Regions from separate parts of the Homo sapiens genome. Here region 2 is linked to region 1. The links are contacts of gene promoters, found by promoter capture Hi-C in human tissues and cell types (Jung and others, 2019). All regions are on one chromosome and are shown on one strand. The core of a region is centred on a gene start or on the middle of the fragment in contact, and the rest is flanking DNA. Distances in the headings are between cores, read along the strand shown. Region 1 holds the start of RNF6 (ring finger protein 6). Region 2 overlaps WASF3 (WASP family member 3).

Region 1 (2,700 bases), core at 5-2,504:
AGATTAAGACCATAATTAGCAAAGAGCATATTTCGTAGGTACAGCAATAATAGGATTTTTGTAATAAATAATTTTACAAGTTGAAGCCTATCATAAAATCAAGTTACCCTAATATTATTTAAAACTTGAGCTTCTCCTTAAAGGTAATTTTCTTATACAGTTAATCACAATGAAAACAAAGCGAATACCTTATTTTCCTTTCAACACGCTTTTAACATATGCCATGGTATCCATCCTTCAATTGTTTGTGCCTTTTTTGAGAGCTGCCCATCTGAAGCAATAAAAGAGAGTTGAATAATTCAATAAACTGTTTCTTTAAAGGCCAGGAACGGGTGGTAGTCTCCCCACTCTGCTGCAAAGCCAAAGCAAATTCTCCAGTGGATTTTGTTAGACACATCTAGAAAATTAGATCCCCATACAATTAGGTCACGAAAACCTCCCGCAAGGCCCCTACCTTCCGCAACAAACTTAGGCCTTTCGTCCTACACTGTCACTGTTCCTGGGTTTACGCCTCCTCTCTCAAAGGCCTTCCTTCCTATCCCGTTCCCATTCGGATGTTACCAGGGTTAGGCGTCTCCGGCTTACTTCTAAACCTTGACTTTCTTGCCACCCCCGCCCTCCGTCCCGCTACTGGTTTCTTTCCCGGCCGTTGCGACGGAAGCTCGCGCCGGGGGACGATCCCCACTACGATAAATAAAGTGGGCTCAAGAGGCCCAACCAACCTCTTCCCAACCGAGCCTCAAGTAACGCTTCCCTTAGAGACCTAGATTCTCACAAGGAAGCAGGTGATAGACGGTGCATCCCAACCAATCACCAGCCAGCGGAGCGCAATAAGAAGGCAGTTAACCAATCGGAGAAGAGATGGGTGGCTCGAAGGATGGCCTGCTTTCCCCGGCGTCTCCAGGAAGTAGTGGTGGGACCCAGATCTTTCCCTCGAGCCCACCTCTCCAGGTCTTGGGCCTTCGCCCTCCTGTCCGGAGAACGTGTGCTGTGGGCGGCCGTTCTCTCGGGTGCTGGAGGCTGTGGTTGGGAGGCGGGATAGGCTTGCCGCCGCGCCTCCGGAGCCCGCTGTGCCCTCGAATTGGCCACTGAGGAGAGAAGCCGGAAGCCCGTGCTGCAGCGTGGGGTCGTCCAGCTGGAGGGGATACTCGGGAGGAAGAACGGCAGGCCCCAGCCCTTCTTTCCCGACAGCCACGCCGCCCACTTGGCGGCGGGGAGTCGCTCCGCAGCCGGCCCGGAGCTCGCCCGTGCAACTGAAAACTGCGTCCGTCGGGAGCTAGGGTGCCTGGCGTCCCGCGTTCCGCCCTCTTGCGCCGCCCTTACAGTGCCTCCTCCTCGAGGCCAAATGCCCGGCCGCTCAGCGCTCGTGGCAGCCGCGTAGTTGCAGAGACACGGTCTGCTTTCCAGGCTTGGGAAGTCCCAGCACTTAACTCTGCGCGTCGGTGTCGCTCGTTTGCCAGCCAGACTATAAAGTGCACCCAACGGTGTATGCGTCTCTTTACTTCCGGGTGTAACGTACTACCCAGCCAGGCCCTTTCCCTTGCTGTGCTTTGGAACCTGGAAATTACAAACCCTAATAAATTCTGAAGTCTGTCTGTCTGTCTATCTCTATTTGAGACAAGGTCTCATCCTGTCGCCCAGGCTAGAGCGATCGTAGCTCACTGCAGCCTCCAGCGATCCTCCCTCCTCATCCCAGTAGCTGGAACTACAGGCGCTTGCCATTAATTTCACATTTTTTCTTTTGTAGAGACGGGGGTCTCGCTATGTTGCCCAGGCTGGTTTCGTACTCGGCCTCAAGCAATCCTCTCACCTCAGCAAAATGGGATTACAGGCATGAGGCACCGCACCCCACTATATTTTGTGTTTTTTCACCTTCCCGCTAGGAAAGCAGTTTGAAACTCCCAACATTCCTCCCTCTGATTTTATTTCTGAGATGTGAGGCTTACTAAACTTACCTCACCGTTAGTTAAGATGCTGAGTAGGTCTCTGTCTAACCTGGTATAGTCCCCTTTCCTGACATCCCTACCATCTGATGACTTCATCACTGGAGAGTGCTCACAATGCCGTTACTTGTTATTCTTCCGTTTGTTCTTTCATTTCTGCATTAACTTTTGAGGAACTACCATATCCCCATTATTATGCTGGGCACCTGGATAACAAGCTACATGCAGTCCTTAGCATCAATGAGCTACCAGTGTAGTAAGGATCTATGGACAAGTGTTTAAAATAAGCATATGGATATGGATACTAAAATGGAAATATATAAAACAGCCTAGAAAGCCCTTCCAGATCTTTCTTCTGCTTACATTTACAGGCTGTTGTCTTGGCACTCCGAAACTGCTTGAAGTTCCGCCACAAGATATGGGAACTCCTAAGCAACCCCCAACTCCACTTTTACCTAATTTCCTCTGTCTCCCAAAACTCAGCTCAGTTCTCATCTTTAAGGAATTTTTCCTGATACCTCTGAAATAACACCCTTACCTCACCCTCCAGCCCGATATTTACACATAAAACTAAGCAAATGTCCCTTTTGGGGGCTCCCATACTCCCTCTATATATAAAACCCTATTTTAGCATGTATTCATGTATTTAACAAATAGTGAGTGTGACTATGTATTAGGTGCTGGTGATGACAGCCGTGAATCAGACAGTCATGTCCTCATAGAATGAAGTCCTTGCCCTCTTTTCCCATGGAAAAAG
Region 2 (2,700 bases), core at 12-2,511, 370 kb after region 1:
CTTGACATTTTGAAGGGCACATCAGTCTGTAGCTTGTATAATTCTGTAACAAATTGGAAAATAATGGAACAAATGAAGAGGAAAAATTGGTCTTCATCTGTTGGTGAATGTCAGTCACTATTAAATTAAAATGAGTTTTTAAAATGAAGAGACCAAAAGTTTTTTTTGTCTCTTTTGGAAAGTTACATTGAGAATTCATTGATTTATGATTGCTATAGGACTTAAAAAGAAAAAAGACTAAAAAATCCAAAACCAAATCCTAAAGAAAAGTTTACCAGCAACTCCATAATCCCATCAAGAATAATATTCTGAAGTAGAGGGCAAGGTTTGGAATTGGTTGACTCTAGTTACACAAGACTCAGTCTATTAAATAACTGTAAATAATGTTCTTAAGCAGAAGTAAATGTGATAAATCAGATAAGCTGATAGAAATTACTATTCTTCAAATCAGAAAGATGAGAAGGAAGGTTAGGAAAAACAAGAATATAAGCAAAAAATAACCCTAGAGTGTAAGTCTGAAAAATTCAGAGTGGGAGTTGGTTTATTGAATCCTCAAATGCTGTTTGTTTGTATGCTAAATGGAAATAGAGGCAGCATAACTTAATGTGATGTGAGGTTTATGTTTTCACTGTTTAAAAACACAACATGACCAGACCAAATCAGAACCACAGAGTCCCAATTCCAGATTTCTGGGAGGGAAACCTGGCCCATTTTAGGTAGTGTCTGTCCCCATTCAGTCAGCTGTGGCCAGGAGGTTGGGGTAAGAGATTAAACCTTACTTGTGTTTTTACCAAAGTCAAATAGTATCCCCAAATCGGCTTCTGTTTCAGTTATCATCACAGATTACATTTTAGGAAATGTGTATATATTTTTCTTCTGGATTCTAATTTGATCTTGTCGAACGTTTTGTAGTTTTAAAATGCGTAACAGTTTACTTCCTCCAGTAAAGTGTCAGAGAGTACCTGTGTCCCTCCCCATCCTGGCCAACACCGGGATTTTTCATATGTTTAATCTTTGCTCATCTAACAAGTTAAAATGGTATGGCATTGCAGCTCTAATTTGTATTTCTTCTATAATTTATTTATTTTTTTAAGACAGTCTCACTCTGTCACCCAGGCTGGAGCGCAGTGGCATGATTATGGCTCACTGCAGCCTTGACCTCCTGGGCTCAAGTGATTCTCCCACCTCAGCCTCCCAAGTGGCTGGGGCCACAGGCACACACCACCACACCCAGCTATTTTTTTTTTGGTAGAGATGGCGTTTCACCATGTTGCCGAGGCTAGTCTCAAACTCTTGGGCTCAAATGACCCTCTTGCCTCAGTCTCTCAAAGTGCTGGGATTATAGGCACGAGCTACTGTGCCTGGCCCTGTATTTCTTTATATTGCTTGAGGTTGAGCATTCTTCCATGTCTGCTTTTCAAATACTCAGTAGATGGATAGTTACTTCGTTCCTTTCTGTTTTTGTTCAACCAAATAGGTAGACTGTGGGGCATTTTGTGAGAGTATTAGTTTGGAAGAAGTTTCAACTTGTTCTATCAGACATGAAGTTTAGCACTAAAAATGGTTCCTCTCAGAACTGGGTAATGTGGAGTGGAGGGGGCAGTGCCTGGAGAGCATTGAAGGAAGAAGTGGCCACTGAACAGGGTGTCATGTTGGGAATTGCTGTGATTGCAAGATATCAGAACTTTACTGCAAATTGAGCCCAGCAGGGATGGGCAACCATATGGCTTAGAAAGTGACTTATGTAGGCAAGTGGTAAAGTCTTACTGAGGTTTAGTGATGCAAGCCTGATGTGGCATCGTCAATAGATGCATTTGTTTGAGGAGTCTTGCTGTTTTGGCTTTAGTTGAATGTTAAGAATAAAATTGGTACCATGTTAATACTTTTAGAATGATTTTTGACTATATCTAGTATTTAAAGCTTTTCTTTAGTTATTTCTCCAAAGCACAACAGAGTTTGGCAGATTTATGTGTGAACTTAAAATAAAATAAAAGATAATGCTGTTAGTGTAGTTTGGGGTGTAGGATACCTTCTGCCTCTGAGGGAATGTTAGACCTCATGCTTTGGATTGTTTTGAACAGAGGTAAACATACTCAATTTGACTAGATGTATCTGTAGATTTTAATGTTAGTGAGCAGTGCTGTCCTGCTTCTTGTGTTAGTTTCTTGAATGGCCACCCCCCATTGCTGGACTTACGCCAGGGCAGAAGAAGGTTCACCTCATGAGCTCAGTGTACAGGAAGGAATGGAAAACATGAACATGCTTTTGCTTTTCTATGTGTAACTTCCCCTTCCCCTTTGAAACCAATTCTTTTGGAAAGCTGCAACTGAAGACCCATATCTGAATAGCATTCTAACAGTATTTCTCATTAATATGCTTTGTCAGTCCTCAGTTTGTAAGACATTGTCAGAATGTTCTTGGTTTGAAGCCTGGATGCTTTCATTTCCCATCGCGCTAATTTCCATCCTGTTAATTTTTTATTCGTGACCCTCTGCTGAGAGGCCCCCCCAACACCTGTTAAATCACAGAGAAAAAAGTAAAATTTGTGGTATTTTTAGTTATTTCTGTACTAATAAGATTGCCACCTCTTAACTCTTTGTAAAAATGTAACATGGTATTTACTTTAACTCCAGTAATAGTTTTGAATTTTGACCTTTTTTTATTTGAGAAAAAAGAAACCCGAAAGAAGGTGGAAAATAG

The links. The method cuts DNA at HindIII sites, captures the fragments that hold promoters and counts their contacts. A contact is called where the count stands out against the background at its distance.
Region 2: a contact is called between a fragment that was not itself captured here and the fragment with the promoter of RNF6 in region 1, in 2 of the 25 tissues and cell types used here (dorsolateral prefrontal cortex and hippocampus).

Annotation. Positions count from the first base shown.
Region 1 is chr13:26,221,060-26,223,759 of GRCh38, forward strand. It overlaps RNF6 (ring finger protein 6), which reads right to left and starts at 1,255. Exons shown (of 5, transcript NM_005977.4): 1 at 944-1,255; 2 at 189-271. RefSeq lists enhancers at 27-908, 909-1,790, 936-1,315 and a silencer at 436-485. The HindIII fragment of the contact is 8,375 bases long and covers 1-2,700 here.
Region 2 is chr13:26,587,727-26,590,426 of GRCh38, forward strand. All of the region lies in intron 1 of WASF3 (WASP family member 3), which reads left to right. Among named protein-coding and RNA genes, the nearest start is that of WASF3, 31 kb to the left of the region's middle. The HindIII fragment of the contact is 3,775 bases long and covers 1-2,700 here.